Regions from separate parts of the Homo sapiens genome. Here all the other regions are linked to region 1. Evidence: promoter capture Hi-C in human tissues and cell types (Jung and others, 2019). All regions are on one chromosome and are shown on one strand. Each heading gives the region's core, a stretch centred on a gene start or on the middle of the fragment in contact. The rest is flanking DNA. Distances are from core to core; before and after follow the strand shown.

What was found. Contacts are between HindIII fragments. The study calls those that stand out against the background at their distance.
Region 2: a contact is called between a fragment that was not itself captured here and the fragment with the promoter of PRPF3 in region 1, in 1 of the 25 tissues and cell types used here (heart left ventricle).
Region 3: a fragment that was not itself captured here is called in contact with the fragment with the promoter of PRPF3 in region 1 in 1 of the 25 tissues and cell types used here (adrenal gland).

The regions. Positions count from the first base shown.
Region 1 is chr1:150,319,749-150,324,191 of GRCh38, forward strand. PRPF3 (pre-mRNA processing factor 3) reads left to right here and starts at 1,785. Exons shown (of 16, transcript NM_004698.4): 1 at 1,785-1,844. RefSeq lists enhancers at 899-1,464, 1,594-1,643, 1,834-1,883. The HindIII fragment of the contact is 24,557 bases long and covers 1-4,443 here.
Region 2 is chr1:150,707,907-150,712,349 of GRCh38, forward strand. It overlaps HORMAD1 (HORMA domain containing 1), which reads right to left. Exons shown (of 15, transcript NM_032132.5): 6 at 3,927-3,947; 7 at 3,639-3,665; 8 at 988-1,055; 9 at 350-501. Among named protein-coding and RNA genes, the nearest start is that of HORMAD1, 11 kb to the right of the region's middle. The HindIII fragment of the contact is 4,564 bases long and covers 1-4,197 here.
Region 3 is chr1:150,059,287-150,063,729 of GRCh38, forward strand. It overlaps a transcript of OTUD7B not described here. Among named protein-coding and RNA genes, the nearest start is that of VPS45, 6.3 kb to the right of the region's middle. The HindIII fragment of the contact is 8,735 bases long and covers 1-4,443 here.

The DNA.
Region 1 (4,443 bases), core at 535-3,034:
CATGTCGGCAGACTGGTCTCAAACTCCTGACCTCAAGTGATCCACCCGCCTCGACCTCCCAAAGTGTTGGGATTACAGGCGTAAGCCACCACACCTGGCCTAAAACCAGTTTCTAGAAACACATTTCTCCATAGGGAATTGAACGCAGACTGTTAGAAGCACCAAAACAAAATAAATTTACAACAACCCTGCAATGTTGAAACTCATTAACCCATTCAACAGACTTTTTGAGTGAATATTTTGTGAGACATTGGTGTTAGAAGCTGTAGGTGGGGAAACTGATTTGTGAATAAGTTGAGCAGTAGGTTCAAACTCCCCCAACTTGTTCCTTCAGAGCCAGGCTTTATCCTGTTATGTCGTGCTGCCCCATCAGGGAAGGTGGGGCTTGGTATGTACATTGTTATCTTTAGATACAAAAATCTCCTACTATCTGGGGAATGTGAATAACCTCCCTGAAGAACAACTGCATCTTCTAGTCAGCCTACCACCAAGAAGACATTTTGGAACTTTAGTTTGGATAGTTTATAATATAAAAATAATGGAATTTTTTCCATTTCTCATATAAGAAATTGTGTCATAATACTGGACAATCTTTTTCCAAACTATCTTTGTCCACACACATGTTGTTATGAATCATCGATTTAAAGAGTCAGTAGGGGCCGGGCGCGGTGGTTCAACCCTGTAATCCCAGCACTTTGGGAGGCCGAGGTGGGCGGATCACGCGGTCAAGAGATGGAGACCATCCTGGCCAACATGGTGAAACCCCGTCTCTACTAAAAATACAAAAGTTAGCTGGACGTGGTGGTCGCGCGCCTGTAGTCCCATCTACTCGGGAGGCGGAAGTTTCAGTGAGCCGAATGCACTCCAGCCTGACGACAGAGCGAGACTCCGTCTCAAAAAATAAAAAATAAAAATAAAAAATAAAGGGTCAGTAGGTTAGAGCCTCATTTTGGAGAGAAGTTAATATATAGACCTATTGATAGAATGGAGAAAACAATACTGGTAGGTCTCACTTGTCATTTATTGAGCCCAAAGTGCTGGGATTACAGGCGTGAGCCACGGCGCCCGGCCTGACACCACTGTTAAATTAGGGAGAAAGGGTTTACTTTCTACCAGAAAGGCTGTGTTTGAACACAAACGCAGAAGCCTCGCTCTTCATTCTAGCCTAAGTTTACTTTTGCGCACTTATTCTCCATATGAGGAAAACAGCAAGTAGCCCAATTTCCGCTTCAGGAAGTTAAAGACATTAACTTGGCAGAAATCGGCCGGGCGCGGTGGCTCACGCCTGTAATCCCAGCACTTTGGAAGGCTGAGGCGGGCGGATCACGAGGCCAGGAGATCGAGACCATCCTGGCTAACACGGTGAAACCCCGGCTCTACTAAAAATACAAAAAATCAGCCGGGCGTGGTGGCGGGCGCCTGTAGTCCCAGCTACTCGGGAGGCTGAGGCAGGAGAATGGCGTGAACCCGGGAGGCGGAGCTCGCAGTGAGCCGAGATCGCGTCACTGCACTCCAACCTGGGCGACAGAGCGAGACTCCGTCTCAAAAAAAAAGCTAAAAAAAAAACCTTGGCAGAAATCTAGCTAATAGGTTTAGCCTGGGAAATAGAAAGCAAGGAAATTGCTCAGGGAAACTTTTCGGTTCTGCGACGCATGCGTTCAGCCTCCAAGAAAGTGGCAAATACGGCTGCGCGAATTGGCGGCCCGGCCCTCCTTGGTCACGTGTTGGGAGACAGCGGCGTGGCGGCGGCGGTGGCGGTAGCGACGGCACGCCGTAGGGCGGTCAGAAGGTTTCCGGTTCCGGTGTAACGTTCGGGCTCCGTCTCAGGGGCTGAAGTTTGTGAGGTGAGTAGTGGCCCCGGGCCCACAGAGGGTAATTCCAGTCCGCGCCACTGTGGCCGGGGACTCAGTCCAAGGGGAGGACCGAAGCGGGAGGGTTCAGCGGGAAGGAGTGTGAAAGGAGTACCTGGTTTGGTGGGAGAAGAGGTTGGAATGAGATTGTTGAGAGGAAAAGGGCGGGGGCGGGAAGGAGACCGGGTTGGGAGACCAGCTCTGGGGTGAGGAGTTTAGGTAGAACAAGGTAGAGTAAGAGACTGGTTGGAGTGACGGAGAGAGTAAAAATGAAGATTAGCGGGGGAGTGGGGGGCTGCAGAGGGAAACTCAGGTTGTAGCAAACAAGAGCACGGAGTAAGGAATTCCTTCTGAAGACTGGATTTGGATTCTGCTGCCTGCTCATTGAGAGGAGAGATCATTGTACCTCGCTTTCCTTCCGCACCCCCACTACCCCCGCACCTCGCAGTTATTGTTGAGCATTTGATTAGTGACAAGGCTAATTACCGTTTGAAACTTTTTTATCCATTGGCTGTTTAGTTTGCACGTCATCTTATGGAGGTAACAGTGGCACCTCATTTATTGCTTTGGGCTTTCAAATTGCTTATACTTTCTAGCCTATCATTCAATTCTAGTGGAATATAAGACCCGTTAAGGTGAGGACTCTTGTTAGTTTTGCTCACTGTTTTATGTATCCACCGCACCTAGTACATTGCTTGACACTTAGTAGTTACTCAATAAATATTTATTGAATGAATTAGGATGTAAATATGGCAGTACTCATTTTGTAAGATGGTAAACTGTGGCTCCAAAGAATTACTTAACTTGCCCAAGGGCTTGTAAATGGTGGGGCTCAGTGTCCCAACTGTTTCTGTGTGAACTCTTGTTTTCACTTTCTATGGCATCTGGATATGCCGCTTTTGTGCAATACATGTGTAATATGTAGAAATTGGTACGCTGTATGTCTACTCATTGTGGGGTAATAGAACCACCATAGAATTACTCACGTAACTTGTCACTGAGGCAGAAAATCTTTCAGTCTTAGTTTCATCACTTCAATCTACTAGCTTCCTTTGGATATACCAAAAGTGAGTCTATTTGGCATCAAGTCTTATAGACTCTAGTATAGAGGCTAAACTTACCAAGAATGTAGAAGTTAATCAGACTGGATTTTTTGGAGAAAAGATGTCTTAAAACATCTTGAAAGATGATTCCCAGATCTTTGATAAGTGGCACTGCTGGGAATAGCTGAGCTTGGAAATTGAGGTCAGTCAATTTATTGACTCCCATTTAGACACCTTTTTTTTTTTTCCCCGGGACGGAGTCTTGCTCTGTCGCCCAGGCTGGAGTGCAGTGGTGCGATCTCGGCTCACTGCAACCTCCGCCTTCCATGTTCAAGGGATTCTCCTGTCTCAGCCTCCAGAGTAGCTGGGATTACAGGTGCAGGTCACCACGCCCAGCTAATATTTGTATTTTTAATAGGGATGCGGTTTCACCATGTTGGCCAGGCTGGTCTCGAACTCCTGACGTCAGATAATCCACCCGCCTTGGCCTCCCAAAGTGTTGGGATTACAGGCGTGAGCCACCGCACCTGGCTTTTTTTTTTTTTTTTTTTTTTTTGGAGACACAGTTTCACTCTGTCGCTCAGGCTGGAGTGCACATGATTTTGGCTCACCGCAACCTCCGCCTCCTGGGTTCAAGTGATTTTCCTGCCTCTGCCTCATAAGTAGCTGGGATTACAGGTGCCCACCACCTCACCTGGCTAATTTTTGTATTTTTAGTAGAGACAGGTGCAGTGGGTCACGCCTGTAATCCCAGAACTTTCGGAGGTCAAGGTGGGCAGATCACTTGAGGTAAGGCATTACCTGGCCGATATGGTGAAACCGTGTCTTTATTAAAACTACGAAATTGGCCAGGCGTGGTGGTGCATGCCTGTAGTCCCAGCTACTTGGGAGGCTGAGGCAGGAGAATCAAGTGAACCCAGGAGATGGAGGTTGCAGTGAACCAAGATTACGCCACTGCACTCCAGCCTGGGCGACGGAGTGAGACTCTGTCTCAAAATAAAAATGAGGGTATTCTTTTCTGAGCTGAAGGATCATCAAGTCAGCTGATGGAGACCCTGTAGATTGAACATGATAATTACCTGTATGCAGAATTCCCACTGGGATGAATATGACCACAGAGAAATGTGACAGAACATTCTTTTTTTTTTTTTTTGAGACGGAGTCTTACTCTGTTGCCCAGGCTGGAGTGCAGTGGCGCGATCTTGGCTCACTGCAACCTCTGCTGCCTGGGTTCAAGTGATTCTCTTGTCTCAGCCTCCCGAGTAGCTGGGATTACAGGCGCCTGCCACCATGCCCAGCTAAATTTTTTTGTAGTTTTTAGTAGAGATGGGGTTTCACCATCTTGGCCAGGCTGGTCTTGAACTCCTGACCTCGTGATCCACCTGCCTCAGCCTCCCAAAGTGCTGGGATTACAGGCGTGAGCCACCGCGCCCGGCCAGAACATTCTTAAAGATCATGAGATTTAATTTAATATCTAAGATGACTGACCTGGATAAACCCTCTTTTACTTGCATACCTTAAAAGAAGGGAATCCTACATAAGTCAGGGTT
Region 2 (4,443 bases), core at 666-3,165, 390 kb after region 1:
GCCTGGGAGACAGAGCAAGACTCTGTCTCAAACAAAAAAAAGTTCCTGTTTCCCCACATCCTTATCAATAATGGATTAACACGTTTTACCAATCTGATAAGTGAAAACTGTTAACTCATTGTTAAATTTGAGTGAGGTTATACTTCACATGGATATGTTCCTATCACTAGAGAAGCATCTATTTTAAAGCTTAATTTTGTAAATCTTTCTTTCTTGAATAGTGATATTAAGTGTAAATTTTATAATTTCAAAAAATTTAGGTGCTAAAAATATTTGGAATGGAAACCAATTGTTTCAATAATGATAAAACATATGTACCAACTGAAACAGGATGTATTGCAAATAGTACCTTCATCATAGTAAAAAAGTTTCATGGTCAAACAAACATCATTAGGTAAAGGCCCCAGATTTTGCATTAGGATATAAATCTTGCGAATGAGGAGAATGCTTGCTTTCTTGGTGTCAGTAGACAACATGCTAGATTCGTTGCTTTGGTTTTTACTAGAAGAGAATCACATATTAATTTATTTTATAAAACCTGTGGCTTCTAATATCATAACTTTACATTTTAACTATTTGAGATTCTTATTTCTATTATAGCATTAAGCTGTTAACTTGAAAGTTACCATGTGTTTTAATGTCACTATTATAAAATTTTAATATTAATATCTGCTAGAAATAATAACTTAATTTTACTTAAGTGCATTTTATATGAAGTGTTTAAAGAAAGCACATTATGTTTTAAAATTATATTTCTATATTTCTAATCACCTAAGTTCTCTTTCCACAATTAAAATTGCTTATTATTAGCCACAGAATCCTGGCTTGAAGCTACTGCAAGCCACCACTCCATTTTGCATAGCCACATCTTGATGGTTAATTGGGGATGTCCCCGCAGTTTCAGAATGAATCCTGAGGTTTAGCTATATAGCATTAATATGAATAAGTGGTAATCTGTAATACAAACAGAAAACTATAGAACAATACCTTATGAAGTCCATGAGTGGTCCATTATTGGTGTATTTGAATTTGAATTGGTAACATTCTGAAATTGTCTTAAATAGAAAATATCGCAGTTATGCTTCTGATATTCAGTACTAGCTGCTAAATAGCTATATTCTGTTTTGTATGACTCAACATTTAGTCAATACTTTTTTCTGCCATATTAATCCCTATTGATCCATTGAAACTTTTGATTCCTCATAGTCAGTTTTCATGGTTTGGGTTTGGGGCTTCAGTCTTGGAGAGACATTTATTTCCCAACTCATTGTAATGTATGTTATTGTAGGGAAAAGAGAGATCAGACTGTTACTGTGTCTATGTAGAAAGGGAAGACATAAGAGACTCCATTTTGAAAAAGACTTGTACTTTAAATAATTGCTTTGCTGAGATGTTGTTAATTTGTAGCTTTGCCCCAGCCACTTTGACCCAACCACTTTGATCCAATCTGGAGCTCACAGAAACATATGTTGTATGAAATCAAGGTTTAAGGGATCTAGGGCTGTGCAGGACGTGCCTTGTTAACAAAATGTTTACAAGCAGTATACTTAGTAAAAGTCATCGCCATTCTCTAGTCTCAATAAACCAGGGGCACAATGCATTGCGGAAAGCCGCAGGGACCTCTGCCCTTGAAAGCGGGGTATTGTCCAAGGTTTCTCCCCATGTGATAGTCTGAAATATGGCCTTGTGGGATGAGAAAGACCTGACCGTCCCCCAGCCCGACACCCATAAAAGGTCTGTGCTGAGGTGGATTAGTAAAAGAGGAAAGCCTCTTGCAGTTGAGATAGAGGAAGGCCACTGTCTCCTGCCTGCCCCTGGGAACTGAATGTCTCGGTATAAAACCCGATTGTACATTTGTTCAATTCTGAGATAGGACAAAAACCGCCCTATGGTGGGAGGCGAGACATGTTTGCAGCAATGCTGCCTTGTTATTCTTTACTCCACTGAGATGTTTGGGTGGTGAGAAACAAATCTGGCTTACGTGTACGTCCAGTCATAGTACCTTCCCTTGAACTTAATTATGACATAGATTCTATTGCTCACATGTTTGTTGCTGACCTTCTCCTTATTATCACCCTGCCCTCCTACTACATTCCTTTTTACTAAAATAATGAAGATAATAATCAATAAAAACTGAGGGAACTCAGAGACCGGCGCCGGTGCAGGTCCTTGGTATGCTGAGCGCCGGTCCCCTGGGCCTACTATTGTTTCTCTATACTTTGTCTCTGTGTCTTATTTCTTTTCTCAGTCTCTCGTCCCACCCGACTAGAAATACCCACAGGTGTGGAGGGGCAGGCCACCCCTTCAGTTATTTATACCACATGGAAGGAACTCCTTAGCAGGCAGATAAGGGAGGCAACATACCTCAGCAGAGTGGCTAACACAGGGCATAAATCTTTGCTATACTGTAACCACAGGCAAGCCACTTAAGCCTTAGTTTAAGTATTAGTTTCCCCAGCTAAAAAAGAGATTAAAGACAGTACATATCTCATTGATAGTTGTGAATAAATATTCACAAATGGGATAATTTATACAGGGTACTTTATAAAGTACCTGACATATAGTAAACATTCAATAAATATTATTATTGTATCAACAAGGTTGCTAATTTACTGATAGAAAAAATGCACAACTATATAACATATGAAAATAAATGAACATTTTCTGAACAATCAATTAGTTTTCTGAACACAATCTATTAATTCACAGCCTTTACCCAAATGATCTGCTTTGTCAGCATGGATACATATTAAGCATTAATCGCAGGTGTGAGTATCAAAGAAAAGACACATTCTCAGCCCTCCTGAAGCCTGAATACTTCTATTGCTTTCTTTATATTTCATTGCTTACATAGTGATGTTTTTAAACGTCTATTTTTAACACCAGTTTAAATCTACCTCTCCTTGACTGAATGAAACGTTATATTGTAACAGCTATAGCGTAATGGGTAAACACCCAAATTGTGAACTGGCCTTCCTAGGTTCAAAAACCTGGTTCTGCCACTTCAGCCACTATGACCTTAGGCAAGAAACCCCTTGTACTTAGATTTCCTCATCTGTAAAGCGGAGATGCTAATAGTGGTTACCTCATGAAGGTTGGGATGAATAAATGAGATAATGCACATAAAGCCCCAAAGAACAGAGCCTAATATAAAGTAAGCACTCAGTAGATCTTTCCCCCTTGTTTCTTATCTTCTGGTTTTCCCTTTCACGTTCTCCCTTCTCTCCTTTAATGGTAAGATAAATAGGTAGCTATGAATGGATTGGGATGAATATTCGAAGTTTAAGGATGACTTTCTTACTTTCCTAAAACTCAAGCCCTTTCATAATTCTAAAATGTAGTATAAAAAATACTATAAAGAATTAGACGTCAGGAGATTTAAGTTAAGTTTCTAACAGTTTGTAAGCTTTGTGGCCTAAGATCAGTCACATAATCTCTGTCATGCTAATCTGTTTAAAGGTAACAATCCAAGCCCTGCCTTACCTCAGAAGAGTTTTATGAAGCTCAAATGTGAAAATATATATGAAAGTATATTGATTAAAGCATAATTAAAAGCATAAGATATTCTTATATTATGTTTCGTGTTATTTTTAGATATTAGAGGCATTATGTTTCTTTAGTAACTCAAGCACACTTACCTGAGGATCTTCTGGGTTTGTGTATACCTATTTAAAAACAATTTACAATTGAGTTATCTAAGGCTAAGTATTCAAGAACTAAATTAGATGTTTAGACTAAACTTCATGTGAACTCAGCAAAACAAACAAATAAAAATGACCACCCAAAATATTACTTTTTCATTCCATTGAATAGATCAGTTATTTGAATAATGTGACATAATCAATTGATAGTTTTAGTGTCATTTAATTAAGCAAGGCCAAATTTGGCAGTATTAAAAAAAGAACACACAATTTAAAAATACTTACAGCTAGAACAACCATCCTTAGCTGAAATACAACAAAGAACAAAAATCTTACTTGTAGTCTATAAAATAATTTTTCATTACGAATCATAAGAATTCTTTGTCCTATTTCAACATGTATTCCTAATAACAAATAATCATTGCAGATCTTGACTGCATAAGATCAATGCCTATAATGCAGTACCTTAGATATGCTTCCCTATCCCCTGAAATATCTATTGCTACTAAAATTACTGATGATTGAAATTCATGTCAGCACTTTATTTCATTGACTTAAGCAAAAAGGACATTACTGCCAGTTACAAGGAAAAAATATATATATTGTGAAATAACACAATATATGTGTTATACTGAAAACAATGAGAACTGATTTTGAAAAAAGAAAAAGCAGAGTTCAGGGCCCTATGAATTCAACAGAGGGAGGAAGTTTTGGAGACCATAGGAAAAGAAAATCATAGAAAATAATTTAATCAAGTGATCTGCCAAAAATCTAAGAGTCATCCTTGATTCTGATCTTTTCC
Region 3 (4,443 bases), core at 767-3,266, 260 kb before region 1:
TCGTGATCCACCCCCCCCCCCCCCGCCTCCCAAAATGCTGGGATTACAGACATGAGCCACCGCACCTGGCCACTTTTCATATTCTTTCTTTTTTTTTTTTGAGACAGAGTTTCACTCTTGTTGCCCAGGCTGGAGTGCAATGGCGCAATCTCGGCTCACCGCCTCCTCCTCCTCCCAGGTTCAATCGATTCTCCTGCCTCAGCCTCCCGAGTAGCTGGGATTACAGGCATGCGCCATCACACCCGGCTAATTTTGTATTTTTAGTAGAGACGGGGTTTTTCCATGTTGGTCAGGCTCGGTCTTAAACTCCCAACCTCAGATGATCTGCCCGCCTCAGCCTCCTAAAGTGCTGGGATTACAGGCACGAGCCACCATCATATTCTTTCTTTAATGCCCAGTCTAGGTAGGGAAGATTAACATTTACTAATATGTTCATTAAAATAAACATAAAACTCGGCTACTCTGGGCACACTGCCTATGGAGCAGCCTTGCTCTTCAAAGAGAGGGAAAAAAAGAAAGAAAAATTATTTTAAAATTATTTTAAAACATAAACATAAAACTTAATAACAATGTAAATACAAAATATTCAGCTAAAAGTTGGAAGGGTTCAGACCAATATGAATTACATGATCCATTACATCTGTTTGCCATTGCAAACAAACAAAAAAAACCAGCAGTCTTTTGATTTAGAATATTTTTAGTCATCTCAACCATTTCATGAAATAGAAGATAGTTTAAAAGAGAAAAAAAATCCAGGATAGAAGTAGGGCCATATGTTCCTATTTAATATTGGCATATAAAAGAGAAAATACAAGTAATATCAGCGTGACTCCTTCAGTGAGATTTCAATGCCTCATCTCACATATTTTCAGGCTATTAGGTGACATCTAGGGCTGAAGGATTTATTCACCAGTTAGCATCTGTTAGGTGATGAACTGTGTCCCTGCAAAATTCCTGTGTTGAAGTCCTGACCTTCAGTATCTCTGTATGGGATTGCATTTGGAGAAAGGGTCTTTAAAGAGGTAATTAAGGTTAAACGAGGTCATTAGGGTGGGCCCTAATATGATTGGTGTCCTTATGAGAAGAGATTAGGAGATTAGGACACAGACACCACATAGAGACCATGTGAAGACACAGGAGAAGACAGCCATCTATGAGAGGCCTCAGAAGAAACCAACCTTTGACACTTGACCTTAGACATCTAGCCACCAGAACTATTGAGGAAATACGTTTCTATTGTTTAAGCTACTGAGTCTGGGGGTACTTCGTTATTGCAGCCCTCTCAAACTTACATAGCATCTGACATACAAGATATGCAATAGGTATTTACTGAAGGAACGAAGGTTACAGTTTATCCAGCAATTAATTCTGCCCAAAGCTGAGGCTGAAGGTTGACTTTCCACCAGTAAAGTCAGATTAAATATTTATTATGCAGTAAGACAGGCAAAAAGCTATTATTAAATATGAGGAATATCCACATACCCTCTACCCATCTTAAGAAATGAAGCATCAGCATTATAGTTGAAGCACCTATGCTCTGGTTCCCAGTGGCATCCCACTTGCTCCCATGCTAGAAATAACCACTAATTGAATTTGGTTATCATTCTCGTGTAGGATTTATTTTTTCTCTTTTCTTTTCTTTTCTTTTTTTTCTGAGACCGGGTCTTGCTGTCCCCCAGGCTGGACTGCAGTGGAACGTTCATGGCTCACTGCAGCCTCAAGCTCATCGCACCCGGCTGACTAAAACAAAAAACAAAAAACAAAAAAAATTTTTTTTGTTTAATTTGTAGAGATGGTGTCTCCTTGTGTTGTCCTGGCTGGTCTCAAACTTCTGGCCTCCAACAATCCTCTTGCCTTGGCCCGCAAATGCTGGGATTATAGGCGTAAGCCACTGTGCCCAGCCACATGTAGCATTTCTTCATACACCTATCTATAGGTTTGTAGCCCTAAACAATATACTATTATTTTTTGCATGTTTTCAAATGTTATATAAATAATATCATACTCTACAAGGACTATGTATGTTGTTTCTATACCCCTACCATCTTTTTGAGAGTCAACCATATGGATGCCCTTAACTCTGGTTTATTTGTCTTAACTGCTAAATATGAATATAGTATTTTGTTATAAAATCATACCATGATTTATTTATTTATTCTTCTGTTGACGGACATTTAGGTTGTTTTCAACTTTTTTGCTATTATCAGCAATACTGTTAAGAACATTCTCATACGTGTCTCACATACATGTGAGAGTTCTCTAGGGCAACGATTTCCAATTCCTTTCATGACCGCACATAGGAAATCTTGGAAAAGCATATAGGTAAAAAAAAGGAGGCTGTTCATAGCCAGCAGTGACCTGCCCAGGGGCTCTGGCTGCCCCAAGACCTGCTTGGCTACTCCTAGCCTAATAACAAGTGTGGGGACAAGAGTGACTTTATTTTAAATGCTAATCTGCCACGTAACTTCTGACTAACCCCGAGTCTGGGAATGCCTCCAGAATGTCTAAATGATGTATTAGTCTTTATGTAAGAACTTCTATTCACTGTAAGTTTCCTCCTAAACCACACTTGATGCAATTGCAGAAATCATAGGCTGTGATGCCCACAGCCACCTACATACTCCTTCCAGATCACATATACTTTCCCTAAGATATAAGCCCTGGGTCTGGAAGGTTTCGATGCAGAGATCTACCTGTCATGCAGCTGCCCAGAACCATATTTCTGTCTGTACATTCCCCTAATAAATCACTCAAAACTGACAAACTGGATTTGTCTGCCTCCTTCTTTGCCTTCTCAGCTCCTTCAGCATTTGGGGGCCACTTTGCACATATGGCCCTTTCACGGAACAAAGAAAGGAAGCTTCCTTGGGAGTTTCCATGGAAGGAAGAGGGAAATATACCAAGGGGACGAATTTTTGAGTACAAGAGTATGTACAGTATATCTTTAGCTTTTTAATGTCCACATTGCTCTCCAAAATGTTATACCAATTTTTACACTTCTGCTGGCAATATATGAAGTGTTGTTCTACATTTTCACCAACACTTGGTATTATCAGACATTTTAATTTTTGGATATGAAATGGTAATTCCATTGTGACTTTAATTTGCATTTTTTAGATTACCATTGAGCATCTCTTCGAATGTTTACTAGTCATTTATTTCATTTTCAGCGAATTCCCTTTTCTAATCTTTTGCCAAGAAATTATGTCTTACTCTGAGCAACTGTTCTTTTCTACCTGTGTTAGCTAGGAATCTCTCTTAAACAAAAGCACATTCTATTTTATATATCAGAGCAACTTACAAAACTACCATAGTGCACAGTCTACATTTTGAAAGCTGCTAATCTATAAAATGGTCTAGAACTGATTAAAAAGTGAAGGGGGAAACCTGACATACATTTGTTTTCTTTTTCTTCTTCTTTCTTTTTTTTTTTTTTTTTTTTTGAGACGGAGTTTCACTCTTGTTGCCCAGGCTGGACTGCAATGGCGCGCGATCTCGGCTCACTGCAACCTCCACCTCCCGGGTTTAAGCGATTCTCCTGCCTCAGCCTCCTGAGTACCTGGGATTACAGGCATGCACCACCACGCCCGGCTAATTGTGTATTTTTAGTAGAATCAGAGTTTCACCATGTTGATCAGGCTGGTCTCAAACTCCTGACCTCAAGTGATCCACCCATCTCCGCCTCCCAAAGTGCTGGGATTACAGGCGTGACCCACCAAGGCTGGCCCTGACTTATACTTATAACAAGCTCAAATCACCAAAAATTTCACTCAGACTAGATCATTTCATCCTTGGGAATGCAAAGATCTTATTTAACTAAATTTTCAGTTACTCAGGTCTCTGAGTATATTACCTGTAGTTTCTGCAGATAGAAATGGTTCTAGGCTAGGCATGGTGGCTCATGCCTATAATCCCAGCACTTTGGGAGGCCAAGGCAGGCAGATCACTTGAGGCCAGGAGTTCGAGACCAGCCTGGCCAACATGGTGAAACCCTGCCTGTACTAAAAATACAAAAATTAGCCAGTTTGGTGGCGGGCACCTGTAGTGCCAGTTATTGAGGAGGCTGAGGCATGATAATCACTAGAACCCAGAGGCAGAGGTTGCAGTGAACCAAGATGGCACCACTGCACTCCAGCCTGGGTGACAGAGCAAGACCGTCTCAAAGAAAAAAAAAGAAATGTTTCTTGCTGTGGAGTGGTTGCAATACAGAAATCCAGTTTCTTTGGCCATCTCAAAATGCTACAAATGGTGAACTTATTTGTAATAAAAAGTATGAATTCAGGATCGTTATTTTAAAGGAGTCTGCACAGGATTTGATAGCTGGTTGGTAGTCATGCTACAAGCCAACTCAGCTATAATATTCTCACTGTGGCTATTATCAATTTACCTACTCAGAAAGGTGGAATCACTGAAATTATTGAATGTGCAGACAGAACTCTTCAT